Regions from separate parts of the Homo sapiens genome. Here regions 1, 2 and 3 are each linked to region 4. The links are contacts of gene promoters, found by promoter capture Hi-C in blood cells and fetal thymus (Javierre and others, 2016). All regions are on one chromosome and are shown on one strand. Each heading gives the region's core, a stretch centred on a gene start or on the middle of the fragment in contact. The rest is flanking DNA. Distances are from core to core; before and after follow the strand shown.

Region 1 (3,810 bases), core at 1,153-3,652, 95 kb before region 4:
TGACCGAGTTAGGAGGCACATGAGCTGGCGGACCTCCTCCCGCATGGCCGCAGCCCCTCGGCGAAGATTATAATCAAAGAGCTCCCGGATAAGGCCCTGGGAGACAAGGATGTGCCTCAAGGCTGGGTTGGTGGCCAGGGCCCGAAGTAGTGTGATACAATGTTCTGTGACAGCCGAGGCGCAGCCATAGCACTTGGTGGAGGATGTGTGGCCACAGCCCAGGACGGATAAGGCACGGTACTGGCTGGCAGTGAATGTGGGCTGCACGGAGGTCCGGGATGATTTAGTGGCTGCTTCCCTCTGCTGTAGGTCATATTCCAACAACTCTTTGCGCGAAGCAAAGACTTTCTAAGAACAAAAAGGCAACAATAATGGGAATTAGCAATTAAAATAAGAAGAGGATGTTAATTAGAAAATTAGTTTTGCTTTAGAAAAAACTTTACATGCATTATATAACTTAATCTTCTCAATAACCCAACTGGTTAGATGCTTTATCTCCATTTTACAGAGAAGGAAACTGAAGCTTGGAGAAAGTGGCTTGACCAAGATAAGTGGCAGAGTCAGAACTCAGACTCAGATGGCAGGCTTATGCTCTTAACTCCCATGTAACAAAGACAAAGGTCAGAAGCTAATACACGTGTAGCAAAGATGGCACTCCAGCAATTTGGGGTTGAGGGGGAAGGTAAACTGGATGCTCTCCTTATATGAGGTACCTCTGTCTATGGCCAGCCTCCCATCTCATGGAGATTAGGTCTGTGACATTGCAACTGACACAAGGCCCACCCTGGTTGATTGCAGTTGGTATGCCCTTACCCTACAGCCTGCAAACACGGCGTTATCAGAAGAGGGAACAGAATCTTGGCATCAAATTTTTTAAGACCAGTAACCCCTCTACTAAGAGATGGGTTGTTAATGGCTAAAAAAAACCCTTATCTGTGTTACCTTCCCATCACCAGTATGTTCAGTTATCTAGCATGAACTCAGCATTCTGACCAGCGCCATAAATCACGGTGGGGGAGATGCCGTTTGGTGCAGCCATCTGCCTGCCTTTTCAGCTAGATTGGGCAGGGACAACACCAAGACCTGGACTGCTAGATGAGAGAGCAGCAGGACTGCTGTGAAAACAACACCAGTAACACTTGGACAAAACACACCCAAAAGCTGCTCCCCGCTCTCTACCTGGATGATTTTGGAGAGTTCATCAAAAGAGTTCTTGCAGTCTCCACAATACTCCTGAGCCAACTGCAGGATGTAACGATTCACACTGGCAGAAGTGGAGCTGATGCCCCCTGCTGTTCCTGAGTCATCCTGCAACCCCAAGAGGTAAGCTGTCAGGCTCCCCACCTAAGGTGATCTCACCTAGGAGGCAGTCTTCTGATCAAGACCCAAGCCCTTATCCAAATGCCCTTTGCAGCGTGGGACTACCTGTGGCTTTTCTGGAGCTGCCTCATTCACTTTGCAGAGCAGGTTCTCCAGCTGTGGCCGGTGTCCCATCAGCTGATGATACACTCGATCAGCTTTGTCCAAAAGTGTATTGATGTTGGATACAGCCTAGACAGGAAAAGACAGGGACTGAGTGAAGGCTTTTTGGCTGATGACTTTCCCTGAGTAATCCTCACTGCTAACCATTTACCAGAACATTTCCTATAGGTCAGGCACTGTGTTTCATACATTATCTCTGTTCTTCACAATAATCTTTCCTGTGAGGTGGGTATATTATTTCTAATAAAAATACAATACACATCTGTGATATATAATAATACAATGCTGAGAGAAGTAACTTATACTAGGTTACACAAGTATTAAAAGTATGGCTGGAATTAGAATTTCTGTCCTTCTGACTCCAAAGCTAAATGTTCTTCTGTTAACCCTATAGGTGCCCCTTTTTCACTGTTCTTTAATATCTAGAACCTCCCCCCGCCCCTGCCCATATTATGCAGGCTGGGAACTAGCACTGGACAATCTAATACTGAGGGAGGGCCAGCAGCCTCAATATGAAGCAGTCTGTGGAAGAAATGCAGGGCAAAGCATCCAAATCCAAAGTTATCTGTACCTGGAGATACTCTAGTTTCATTACCAATCAACACTTTTCTAAAATCCTATGCAAACCATGTCTTTCAATACAATATACCTCATGCCATTCTTTGCTCCCACCCAAAAGCTGGGCCCTGAAACTGGTGTTGAGTCGAAGAAGGCTTAGGCTAGAAAGTAAAGTGCACTGCACTGCACCAGGTCTGCCCAAAGTCCAGATCAAGGCCACAGCCCTGAGTCTAGGCCAGATCTGGCCTCACCTTCTTCCGGTCTTCTTCATTCTCAATGGGATCCACTGCACAGCAAGGCTTGGCATAGAGCATGAAGTCGAAGCGGGCATATTTACAGAAGCCACAGGCATTGCAGAGGAAGGGATCCTTTTCATCGTAGTTGATGGATCTGAGTAACCAAAGCGTTTGGGTCAGTAAGGTGACAAGGCTGGGTGGGGTGGGGGTCACTCTGAGGAAATGGATTGTGCCACATTTATATACTCTGGTAACTACTGCAGGGGCTACTGAAGGGACAATAACAAATGAATGACTTAAGCAGCCAGGTAACAAGAAAGCAAGACCCAGAGCTAAACTTCTGGACCTCCCTCCGCCCTTACCCTCCACCCCTGCCACAGGACAGACACACTCGTGTGCACATGCACACACACACACACACACACACTCACTCACTCTCTCTTCTTCCTCCTCCCTTTCTACCCTTGAACCCACTCTACAAACCCATAATTCTCTAAATGTTCTGAGGGAATCAGACACTGTAATTGCTCACACTGACACTACTACAGAAAAATAACAAGGAATGTGCACAGCCCTGGCCTAGGGGATGACCAATGACTTACCTGCATTTGTGACACTGGTACACATTCTCTCCACAGTTGCCACAGACTCCTGGGTTGGCAGGGACCGAGGCACTACAGCGAGGGCACTGCAGGGTCTCTGTGGAGGCCTGGTAGTTTTCATAGAAGTCTGCAAACTCAATCATCAGATTGGAGGCCACAATGGGCAACGGCAGGTCAATCTTCACCTCTGTCTGTCCAGGGGTCAGCTGAACCTTCTTGGCTTTGTGCCAGCGAGCTGGCCTAGGAAAGACAGACAGCCTTGAGATTTTCTCATCTAACCCTCAGTGATAACAGTCTGATGAGACAAAGAGGAAGACTGTCCCATGTATTTTTCTAAGGCAATTAAGTGGTTACTCTAAGGAAAAGAAATCTGGCATATAATAGGAAGCCAGTTTTAAAAAAGTTTTCTACTACCTTTTCTCTATAAAAAAAGGAAAGAACATACAAGTGCTTTAAGCTGTTATACATGATACCTTTTGAAATTCCAGGAAAACAACAGAAGTATATAACAAGGGAAACCATGACTCCAAAAGCATGCCACACTGAAGCCTGTAAGAGGTGCAATGATGATGCATGCCAAGTTCCCATCCTGACAGCAACCTTGGAAAGATAAACCCAGGCTATTTTAGAGAGGCAGAGGAAGAAAATCAGGGTCTGAACCAAGTGCTAAGTCAAGTCATAAAGAGGAAGGTATGTAATAATTTTGGGGTGATTATATAACACAATGAGAGCTAATATTTACTGAGTACTTACTATGTACTAGGCTCTGTTCTCAGCACCTGACACATACTAACTCATTTAATCCTTAAACCCTGGAAGTGGGGTCCTACCTCCATTTTATAGTTACAGAAACTGAGGTTAAGCAGCTTCTCTAAGGTCACAGAGCTATGTAGCAGAGCTGGGATCTGAACCCAAATAGTCTACCAGTAGCT
Region 2 (3,661 bases), core at 314-2,813, 67 kb before region 4:
AGAGAGAAAGCTCTGTCAGTGTCCCATGGTAAGTGGTAACTTTTGGAAGTCCACTGAATAAGAGCTAGAGGAGAGTTGTGAAGCTCCTCCTCCCCTTCTCCTGCTGCCAGAGACTCACCACCATCTCAAAATCTCCATGGTCCACCTCACTCTGTTCCTGGCTTTCCTGACGGATGTGACCACCATTCGGGATCCCTGATGACTGCATTTTCTCATCTGCATCATCATCGTCATCATCATCCTTGTCTCCTGAGTCAAAGAAACCCCAGTCACCTGAAGGTGCTTGCTTTCCTCCCTTGGCACATGGTGCCATAAGTCAGGTGGCAACAAAAACCCAAGACAAGCTACCAGCTAGCACCCTGGGCTTTAGCGGGAGAACTCCGGGGTGCTATGCCTGGCCTTGTTCTCTTACTTCTTGGACCTACAGCATCTGGGAAGATGGAGTTGGCTGCGACAGCTTGCCCCCCACAAAAATAAAATGTTCCAGCTGGTGAAGGAAACAAACTTGGATTCCAAAGGGATTTCCATAAAGGTGAGAGATCTAAAACCAGTAGGCCTCCCAAACTCACGCTAACTCTCAGGAGACCTTGGATAAGACAGGAAAAATCATATGATTGGGATCTTTACCTTTTGTCTGTCATGGCAGATTAGAATTTATTTCACTATTTTTTTCTAAAACAACTAGGTCAGTGAGATTTTCACACTACGTAATTACTATGAGAAGAACCAGAATTGAAGTGTAAAACCATTGACTGGAAACCAAGGACACCACTGCAGGTCCTGCCTGTGCCCACTTTTGTGTGAAGGTGAGAAGGCCTTCTAATAAGGAAGATGTCCAGGTGAGACTCCTAATTGTCAGAAGAGGATAGAGACCTCACCTTCCACTCGATGGATTGCTAAAGCTTGTAAATATGTCCGTTAGAAACATAAACTATCTCCACTCTAGGTTCTTGCTAGGGAAAAGAGCCACAAACTGCTGCCTAACCCAAAAGCTTAGGCAAGATAAATGATATGCAAGGAAGATTTTCTGAAAGTCACAAAGTTGTGTACAATCCTCTAGATGTGCACTGTCCACCAGCCACATGTGACTACTGAGCACTTAAAACATGGCTGTCTAAAAGGAGATGTGCCACTAGTGTAAAATACATTCTGGATTCCCAAAATGGTACCAAAACAGGCAAAATATTTCACTAATAAATTTTTTATATTGACAAGATGTAGATATAATATTTGATATACTGGATTAAATAATTAGTAAATCAATTTTACTTTTTACTCTTTATAATATTGCTATTAGAAAATTTAAAAGTACAGGCCGAGCAGTGGCTCGCGCCTATAATCCTAGCACTTTGGGAGGCCGAGGCGGGCGGATCATTTGAGGTCAGGAGTTCGAGACCAGCTTGGCCAACATGGTGAAACCCTGTCTCTACTAAAAATACAAAAATTAGCTGGGCACGGTGGCACGCGCCTATAATCCCAGCTACTAGGGAGGCAGAGATTGCAGTGAGCTGAGATGGCACCATTGCACTCTAGCCTTGGTGACACAGTGAGACTCTGAAAAAAGACGAGAGAGAGAGAGAAAGAAAGAAAGAGAAAAGAAAAAAAGAAAAGAAAAGAAAGAAGGAAGGGAAAGGAAAGGAAGGAAGGAAGAAAAAAGAAAGAAAGGAAGGAAGGAAGGAAGGAAAGAAAGGAAGGAAGGAAGGAAGGCAGGAAGGAAGGAAGGAAGGAAGGAAGAAAGAAAGAAAGAAAGAAAGAAAGAAAGAAAGAAAGAAAGAAAGAAAGAAAGAAAGAAAATTTAAAAGTACATAGTGACTTTCATTTGAAATTTACTTCTAAATCAAGCCAAGTAACCAGAATTATATAATTCTGTTATTCAGACACCTTTTAGAATTGCTTTTACTGAATCGTAAAATGTTATGCCCTTGACTGTATTGTGTATTGTGTATTGTGTACTGTGTATTGTGAGGGAAATTCCTGTGAAATTTGCTATCCAACTTATTGTAGGTAAGTCCACTAAGGATTCTGCCCCTTTGGCAACAAAATGGACATTTAATGAAGAGCTTCTATCCCAAGAAAAGTTATGTTTCTGTTTTGTCTTTGGTCACTGTGATTTTATTTTTGCTATGGCTCTTAGGAAGCTTTCAGCCAAATATAAGACCCTCGCTTACCAACCATGCAGGACCTTTGTGATGTGAATTTTCTGTATTTTGATTTTACTATGGTACTTTTATTTTCCCATGGCCTTTAATCTTTATTTTTATCCTACTTACTATATACATTTTGATGTGCCACCTAAATTCTTTATGGGGTGAGGTAGGATTAGAAAAAAGACAGATACATAAAGTCTCCAGGACCTTGGTCAACATGAGCAGCATGCCCAATGCTACTGTACCTCCCTCTCTCCCCTCCTCCCAAATACAGGCTTGAGCCTAAACCCAGACCTCATATTACCCATTGGAGTGTTGCTTCGAGGGGAAGAGGGTAAAGTCACATGTCTCCGTTTGTTCCTGGGCCTTAGGACTCGAATTAGAGCTTGTTTACAAGAGAAGCTCACAGCAGGATCCTGAGGTTTAAAAGGAAACTGTCACGCTTTGCTCTCATATTATTCATGAAACTCTCTATAAAACACTTTCCTTTCTTGGTCACTCACTCACATGCAAGTGGAATACCTCTCTACTCTCACCTGCAACCCAGCGGACCAAGTTCAGCAGGTTAAGTTAATCCCCGCTTCCTGTTCTGGCACACATTAAGAGCCATTCGCTAACCTCCTGTCTCTCAGTTCCTGGGGATGGACTGGCAGGTCATTTGCTCCTGAGGCCATTTTGGCCCCTTACAAATGGTTCTGGCTTTTTATCAGATGATCAAGCCCCCAGCGCACGTCTTAGCTCTGTGCTAAAATCAGTAGTTTTAACACTTAGCTTCTGTGAAAGGGTCACTGGAAATAGAAATCTTGATGTACTACTTTCATTCATGTGCTCATTTAAGTCACAATTCACCGAGTTACCTAGCACTTACTATGTAGCAAGCAGTAGGCTGTCCCTGGTGATTCAGCACTGAATAAGAAAGACTGAGCCCATCCCCTTTCCAAATCTTTCTCTTCCATGGAGTAAGATCTTAAAGCTTTTATTGATATTTGAAACTTCATTCCCTTCAGCTTCCTCTAAATATATTTTATTTCATTAGCTTAGCAAGCTAAAAACAATTTTCCAGATATTCCCTGGCTGCTGCGAGCTCTCTGGGATTGTAATGCTACGTACAGGACACAAGAGCATCTGCATGTAGATCTTGGATGCTGTGTTAATACAATCCAGCTCACAGGTACAGTAGCCATGGATGATGTCCACCAGAGCATTGACAGTAGCTTCAATATGAGTTAGTCCTAAAGGAGAGACAAACATTATTTGAAAATCTGGAGGAAAAAACTCTAACTACTTGAGAGTCTGAGACAAAAGTGTAACCTTTTATCTCCATGTAAAAGGTCATGCAAACAAAATGACAAACACTCACATACACACTCATTCACACACAGTAGCCTGTATTATTTATGATTTGTTTCATTAACAGTTTCCTAAACTCCCAAATTGTCCTCAAAAGTCTTTCCAGATATCTTGAGTCACAGAAATAAGTAGCTGTCCACTCTCTCTGGATATCAAAAGACAAG
Region 3 (3,788 bases), core at 104-2,603, 110 kb before region 4:
TTCTAGGCCTGATTCCACCAGTAACCAACTATGTACCACAGCTGAGGAAATGCCAAGTCCAGGGAAATGAAGTGGGCTATTCAATTCCTCAACTATGAAATGAAAGGTTGGACTAAAGCCTCTGTCTATCAACTGAGACATGCCAGGATTCCATTAACGAGCAGCTTTTGAGTGAAAGACTATCCTTAGCAATTGTGCTTGCTCTGAATCCAAAGATTTCACATTTCGATACAATTATGTCATCATTAGTTGAGTCCTAACATTCCAATGCTTAAGCAGGCTCCGCCATTCTCAGGTGGGCTAAGCCAGACACAAACAGGCCTGTTGTGGGCAATGAGACAGTGCAGGCTCTCAGTGCCTGCAGATGGAGGGGCCGAGCCCCACTCACCTTGTCCTCACTCAGGGGCTCAGCATTGGACTCATCTAGAATGATCTCCATGATGCTAAGCACCTGCTCAGCCACAGCTGCACCCCCACTGTCCTTGCTTTCTTGTTCAGCTACAAGGGCCTGTAGGAGAAGGAGACTCAGTCACTCTCAGAATAAGACCACAGCCACTAACTGCTGAGGACAATTGCTCTCAAGGATGCCCTCACAGCCTTACTCCCCAGAGACCATGTGTGTATGACCGTGTGTATGTATGTGCGTGTATATGCATGTTCTGAGAGGGAGACAAGCGTGTGAGCTTTTGATGACAGGCAGCTTTGCTGCCCCAAGGAGAGGGGCACTTCTTTCCCACTGGTGTGTAGTCTAGACTGTTTAAGGGACTGCCTTCCTCTTATCTCTGATCTGAACTCAGGAAAGGAGCAAGGAAGCTCTTGAGTGCCATGGCAGCAGCATGGGGGCAGGAGGTGAGCCAGCCAGAGGAGAAGGGCAGCTGAATGACCCAAGCCTCTGCACCAGTCAGCCAGAGAGATGAAGGGCTTGAAGAAGCCGTGAGTCCATTTCATCTGAGCCCAGAACTGAGAGGTCTTTCACACCCAGACTTCCAAGGCCCACTCTTCTTCACCTGCAGTCCATGCTCCTTACCAGGTTTAGGGTCCCCAGCATGACGTTCAAGGTGTTCATTTCCAGTTTGACCAGTTGCTGCCGGTTGACTTTCACCTTCACGCAGTAACTGAACAATTTCAGTAGCACCTGACAAGAAAAGCCAGTCAAAACCCATGAGGCCACATGAGAGTGTAGGACATGGGGGCCAGTAGGAAAGGGATGTCTAAGCAGGGTCTACACCATCAGCAGGGGCTCCTCCTGAAATGAAGAGGACAGGAGGGAGAAGCGGCTCTTCAGGGGACATGGTGAGATGGCTGGGCTCTCACATTAGGCTGGTAGCTCCAATGGCGGGATATATCTCTACCATCTCTAATACAACGGCAATGACAGCAGTTCCTAATGGAAGAGGTGATGCTCTGTTTGTTGTCTTGGGGGAAATCCCAGCATCAACTCAGACCCTAAACTAATAGTAAAGAAAATGATCCCAAAGCTCGTGGCCTGTGAGAGCTCAGAACCACATAGGTCATTTAAAACAAAGGCACAATAATAACAATAATACATATTCTCATAAACCCTGGGGGAGTGGGGGTGGGGAGTAGTGAAAATAACAGTGTAGTATTTGTGGTGCCTCTCTGGAATGCTCTAATCCTCACTAAGGAGATTAGTTGGATGAATACCCAAACAAAACCCTACAATGCAAGAAATGAGTTACATTACAAAATCCATTTTAAAAACAACAACAATGATAATAGTTAACACAAGTGCAGCTATTTGGGGAAAGACAGTCAGATGCTGGCTCTATAGAGAGGTATTGGAGAAGGGAAGTGGGCCAGCAGGACGGGAAAAGGTGTGCCTAAGAATGTAGTCCTAACTGCCAGGTCCTTCACTGGCTCGCACTGCTCCACGGCACCATGCTGCCCTCTAGGGTAAAATGACACAGTGGCCATAGCTTCTTTCCACAGGGGCCTCTCCCAGTGCAGAAAGGCTGGCCCCCACAACTTGCTGCCCCCAACTCACTGTTAGAAGGTGGCGTCCCTGCTTGAAATCTCTGATCCCTGCGAGTCTGTTAAGCATGCATTCCAGGCCCCCACACTGGGCCATCACACCAGCCATTTTATACACTTCTTCTTCATCTTCTTCTTCATCTAGGGGAGAAGGGAAGCCAAGCAGAAATGGAGGGTAAGGTGAAGATGGGAATAAAATAGGCCAGGATAAGACAGCCCTATTCCTGGCTGATGGCTGACAGCCCTTTTCCGTATCTCCAATAAAGACACGGCCAATAAAAGGGGTCAATGATGGATGATATTAAACTGTCCCACTCTCAGTAGGAGCTTTTTTAAAGTTTCAAGTCAATTAAAATTACTTACTCAAATGTCAAAGTATGAGCACCAATACCATCAATGGAGTGGGGGGAGAGGGAGTTAAAAATAAATCTGAACTCCAGTTTACTGTTCATTGCATTTTCCTCTAAAAGTTTGCTGGTATTCTTTTTTTTTTTTTTGAACACTCAGTGGTATCTGCATCATGCCACAGACACCTCTTTTTTTCCTCAATTGAAGAAACAATCTCCCCACAATTCTGATGCAGAGGTACAAGAGAGAAGCAACTGAGAATGCCCCTAAGTCCTGGGACGTGAGCCGCTCATGAGTCCCAAGCCTCAGATCCAATGTGCAGTGCCATGATCTACCTGTAGTAGAGTCCAGGGACTCAATGAACTCCTCTGTGGCATCGCCCAGCAGCCCCCGCATACGATAAACAATCCTCATGGGCTCTCCCTGAGCAGAGAAAGTTGGAGAAAGGTACTTAAAAACAGGCCCAGACAAATGCAAAGGACTCCATACTTGGTCTTGCTTAAAGCCCCAGCAATGTGGAGAGCCTCTATTTTTCTACAAAGTCTCAACCACAACATCTAGAATCCAAATGCACAGCAATTCACTTAGGGGAAAGAATGCTAATTTTATTTTGTGTCTACTAGAAGCTAGACATTGTATGAAACATTTTAAAGACACTATCTCCTTCAATTTCATTAGAACACTATGTAATAATCTAACAAATATTTATTGAATGTTTTACTCTGTGCCAGGTCCTATGCTAATTAAGTACTTTCTATGATCCTTTTACATAAGGTTACACAGCTTGTTCAAGGTTACCAAGCTATAAGCGGAGGTCTAATTCCAAGCCTGGACCTTCCTCAGGAGTAGAAACTGTCTCCAATCAATAGGGACTACTACCCAGGACAAACAAGGCCATTTAAATCAAAGAGCTTTGACTCAAGCCTCGGGAATCAAAACAGGAAAAGAGAGTACATCAATCTTTACCTACAGAGATTCAGACGTCTTTATATAACCATACAAGGAGGGGGTTCATCCACAATTCTTTAAGCTAAACCCACAATCTGACTAGAATGATAAGAATCAAGTCTTTTATAAATGACAAAATTACAGCAACTTCACTAAATTGGAGAATAAGGAAAGTTCCCTGTATGTCTGGCACTGAGCACATATATTAATATTATTCTCATTTTGCAGACTAGAAATTGGAGCTCAAAGTAACCACTGATGAAATCCAGTGGGGGATTTGGTAGCACGCTAATTCAAGCAGCCTGCCTCCAAGTCTATGCTGAGCTTCAGGACAGGACACCCTGGAGGAAGACAACCTGCCAGAAAGGCCAGTTGCAGAAGTGTTTCCGGCTATAGAAGCCCAGTGAGAATTCCTCAGAGAGAACCACCACAGACACTGAACACAGAGCAGGTTCTAGTTCTAGTCAGTAGCTACAGAGGTAGGCTGCTTATCAGGGAAA
Region 4 (3,926 bases), core at 392-2,891:
GACCACTACCACATACATGGCAAAATTCAAACCTAGTGATGTATTTGGTTGGAGGGTGTTCCTTAAGTATTACAGCTTTAAAGGTGGCCCCAGAATACAGGATTTATGGAAGGGTGTCAACAAATTATTAATATTTTATAACCTATCCAGCTCATGTCCAGAAAAACATAAAAGCAAATGCTCTAAAAAGACTGGAACGTTACTGATTCTACGTAACATGAGTATGAGTCAGGAAAAATACTGCCAATCCAAATGTTTAAAACAAAAAGCAGCCACGTAATTTGAAAGTAGTATATTTGAAACCTGTTTACATCTTCAGAACATTCCTGGCCTGATGATTAGATAGCAAAATCCGTCTGTAAAGCTGACTGTGAAGTTACCAAACTCAACCATTATTTTATTATAATTTGTTAAAAACTCTGCATCCAAAGGATTACAAGTCTACAACAAGAAAAAGCACAAAAACAATTTGTCAAACCGTGGGCCTCCTTTGAGTAACAAATAGCAATTTTTAACCTCTGGATAGCAGCTAGATATACCCTTGTCATCGTGAAGCTAAAATGACCCAGTTAACAATTGCAGGGAGTTGCTGAAATGAGGTATGGCTAGAAAAATGAAAGTCAGTCTGGCTTTAAAAGCAAAAGTCTACCATTAAACTAATGAAAGACTGCTCTGAGCACAGTATGTCAGGAAAAGGCAGGCACTCTGAGATCACCATCTTTGTACCTACATAACTGTCACTAGCTAAGAATCGCTGTGCAAAAAGACAAAAACACACAAAAGGAAACCAACAGATAGTACCGTTTGTAAAAGAATGTGATGATATTTTAATGCGAGGGGGATGGGAGGCAGCAAGAGAACACACACACCACACATCCTCTGGGAAAATGATCTCTCAGACACACACTGAAATGTTTTTAATCAAAGACCGATACAGTAGGAATGCACAAGGAGTGCAACGTAAAAAGAGGTCATCAATGTAGCTAGTGGCTTCAGTCACAGAAATAGCACGTGCCCCCACTGATTACAGCACCGCGGGGAGACCGTTATTAAATTATACCGTACGGCTCCGCTCCGGCCCAGGCTAGGAGGATGAGTGCGGGCGAGAAATGCAAACTCATCTGTGACTTGACCCAAGGGGCAGCCCCGTGAACATTCCCTTAAGAGGGCGAATGCATCTCACTCTCAACCATGTCCGGCCACGCCCTCCCGCAGGGAGGCCGCTAAAGTTTTGCTCGAGAGGGGAAACTGAGGTAGAGGTGATTTACATGCGTTGGCGGAGGGAAACCCAGGCAAGCCAGTCTCCCCGGGCCCGGGACCCCGAAGCCGTGGCTGTGGCGGGGATCCTCAAGGGGGCAGGGGGCGGCCCGGAAAGCGGGTCCAGACGATCCGGCTCGAAATCCCCTCCCCCCACAACAGCGTCGCCCGCCAGAGCCGCCGCCCGGTACCTCTCGATGACTGAGGCCACCAGCTGCGGCAACTCCTTCATCTCGAAGGCGGAGTAGGACGCGGACAGCAGGGGCCGCACAGCCACCTCCCAGCCCGGGGTCGTGTCCGCCCCCGTTGCCGGGGTCCCCGGCGCCGGAGCCGCTGCCGCCGCCTCTTCGCCGCCGCTCGTCGCCATCTTCCGTCGTACTACTGCGGCTCCCTCCGGGGGCTTGCCACCGGCCCAGCGCCGCCTCCCAGGAGGGGGCGGAAGTGACGCAATCTGTCGCGTCAGACTGCGCGCCGCCGTCATGGGTCAAAAACGCGACGCGCGGAGCGGCCTTTGCTCTCACCGGGGTCGAGCCGCGGCGAGGGAACGGATCGGAGACGCTGCGCCTGCTCAGAAGGTAGCGCAGCGGGGAAAGGCGGGAGAGCGTTAACTTCTGAGCCTGCGCGGTGGGAGTTGCTCAAGCAGGTGGTAGCGACTTGGCTTCCGGGCAGCGGGTAAAGGTGAGTCTGGGGCATGGGTTCAGTGGGCAAGTCTAGGGCAGCAGAGTTGACTACGCCTCGGCGTATAGAATGGCCCTGGCCTGGGACAGCTAAGGACGACAAGAGGAGGCCGAAGCCTAAAACGCTTTCACCTGCTTCTTCCCCTGCCTAGATCCCCCCAATAGTAATACTAAAGAGCGCCATAGTTTACAAAGATTTCTCCCTCTCACAACACCTTTTAATCACTGATCCGTATTCCCTTAGCACTCAAATCTCTTCTGTTTGGATTGCCCTCATTAACAATCTGACCAGCTCGTACAATGCATCCCTCTTTGCAATTTGCCACGTATGCTTACGTGTTCCCCTTTTTTCTACTGGCAAGGAAAGAATGTAAGCTTTTATTCACAGGAGATGTCTGAGACTTTTGCCGGTAAAATGATCTGGCTACAAGGTCTAAGAGGGAAAAGCAGTTTGCTCGAGGAAAGGTATTCGTGCATTAAGGACAGTCCTGTGAGTGAGATATTGGTGGACGGCTTCAAGCTCTAGCCTGTGGCCTACAGCTGGCCTAAATAAGACTGGGAAGGAACTGTGAAGACGGTTTCAAATTCCTAAAGCCCTGAAATTCTCCCCCTAAGTTTAGGAAGAGCTTTTGTTCTTGGTGTGTAACACTGATAAATGAATTGGTACCTAGTGATTAATCTGCACTTTTATTAAGATATGACCTACTTTACCTTTTTTGAGACAGGATCTTGCTCTGTCGCCCAATAGCCCAGGCTGGAGTGCAGTGGCAGAGTTGCAGCTGGCTGCAGCCTCCACCTCCCTGGCTCAAGTGATCTTCCAGCCTCAGCCTCCCCAGTAGCTGAGACTATACAGGTGCAGGCCACCACTCTTAATTTTTTTTGTTTGTTTTTAAGAGACAGGTCTCCCTACGTAGCCCAAGCTGTTTTCGAAGTCCTAGGTTCCTCCCACCTTGGACTCCCAAAGTGCTGGGATTACAGGCTTGACCCACTGCGCCCAGCCTGCATCTTTACATTCGAAATAAAATTCAGTCAAGTCAAAGCCGGTCTTGGAGGAAAATGTGGCTTTGATGACAGCAGTAGGGATTTTCCTTCAGTGCCTACTTACCAGAGGATAATAATAACAGCAAGTTTCTTAAACATAAAAACATCAGAAATGAAAAAGAACTTTCCATAACACTATAAATATTGCAGTATTTCAAGATACTGAACCAGAGCCCTAAGGAAAGGCTGGAGACCCAGAATTTTATAATGGCTTTGGGACATGAATTTTATTTTAACCAGAGGACAAAATTAATCTGCAAAAGCTGTCTTGGAGAAATTTCAGGAAATAAAAGATCAAATGTATCTGCTGTCCTCCCTTCCCTCTCCAGGAGAATAAAAGGCAAATGCAAACTATCACAGGGAGATTTTCACCTTTACCTAAATTATTTATTATATACTTTATATTTCTGGTTAATAGATTGGGAGAGAGCACTCCAGATAAAGAACTTCCTTTATAAATGCCACATTTATTTCAGTACTGGAGGTTTGGTCTTGTGTTGCCACAAAGATTTGGAATGGCATCTATGTTATAAATTTAGATGACAAAAGAGACTAATAAAAGACTTCTAGATGAAACACAAGCTTCTAATATTCTGGTCCAGGAAATAAGATAGAAACTAAAAAACAATAAATAACTTTTATGAATTAACTGAAGGACTTAAAATACTTGTTCCATTCTAATCCCAAGTGTCTGCCAAGGAACTGAAATTTAAAATGATAAAAGACATGATACAGTCATGTTACAGGGAATTCAATGAAGTAAAAATGGCAGACATTGATGAATGGTATGGTTTAAAGATTTGTGTAGAGGTAGTGATGAGGAGGCCTGCTGGGAGCTGGAAAAGTTCTATACCTTGACACAGTTATGCTTACATGGATATACACACACAGTAGTCACTAAGCCATGATTTGTACTTATGATTTGCACACTTTGGTGGTTGTAAATTGTAC

Evidence for each region. Contacts are between HindIII fragments. The CHiCAGO score rates a contact against its expected background, and 5 or more counts as called.
Region 1: a contact is called between a fragment that was not itself captured here and the fragment with the promoter of UBR4 in region 4, in 7 of 17 cell types (megakaryocytes, neutrophils, erythroblasts and 4 more). The highest score is 9.9, in megakaryocytes.
Region 2: a contact is called between a fragment that was not itself captured here and the fragment with the promoter of UBR4 in region 4, in 8 of 17 cell types (megakaryocytes, erythroblasts, endothelial precursors and 5 more). The highest score is 10.9, in megakaryocytes.
Region 3: a fragment that was not itself captured here is called in contact with the fragment with the promoter of UBR4 in region 4 in 8 of 17 cell types (neutrophils, erythroblasts, megakaryocytes and 5 more); the score reaches 9.7 in neutrophils.

Annotation. Positions count from the first base shown.
Region 1 is chr1:19,112,520-19,116,329 of GRCh38, forward strand. It overlaps UBR4 (ubiquitin protein ligase E3 component n-recognin 4), which reads right to left. Exons shown (of 106, transcript NM_020765.3): 74 at 2,879-3,118; 75 at 2,292-2,430; 76 at 1,426-1,551; 77 at 1,180-1,308; 78 at 5-348. Among named protein-coding and RNA genes, the nearest start is that of UBR4, 96 kb to the right of the region's middle. The HindIII fragment of the contact is 3,762 bases long and covers 522-3,810 here.
Region 2 is chr1:19,141,529-19,145,189 of GRCh38, forward strand. UBR4 (ubiquitin protein ligase E3 component n-recognin 4) reads right to left here. Exons shown (of 106, transcript NM_020765.3): 54 at 3,258-3,379; 55 at 2,452-2,563; 56 at 119-249. Among named protein-coding and RNA genes, the nearest start is that of UBR4, 67 kb to the right of the region's middle. The HindIII fragment of the contact is 1,146 bases long and covers 991-2,136 here.
Region 3 is chr1:19,094,518-19,098,305 of GRCh38, forward strand. UBR4 (ubiquitin protein ligase E3 component n-recognin 4) reads right to left here. Exons shown (of 106, transcript NM_020765.3): 91 at 2,676-2,763; 92 at 2,006-2,133; 93 at 1,028-1,135; 94 at 389-508. Among named protein-coding and RNA genes, the nearest start is that of UBR4, 110 kb to the right of the region's middle. The HindIII fragment of the contact is 5,286 bases long and covers 1-3,788 here.
Region 4 is chr1:19,208,625-19,212,550 of GRCh38, forward strand. It overlaps UBR4 (ubiquitin protein ligase E3 component n-recognin 4), which reads right to left and starts at 1,642. Exons shown (of 106, transcript NM_020765.3): 1 at 1,449-1,642. The coding sequence starts at 1,624. EMC1-AS1 (EMC1 antisense RNA 1) reads left to right here and starts at 1,762. Exons shown (of 2, transcript NR_135114.1): 1 at 1,762-1,935. RefSeq lists silencers at 1,312-1,631, 2,657-2,726 and enhancers at 1,682-1,731, 1,982-2,031. The HindIII fragment of the contact is 5,774 bases long and covers 1-2,307 here.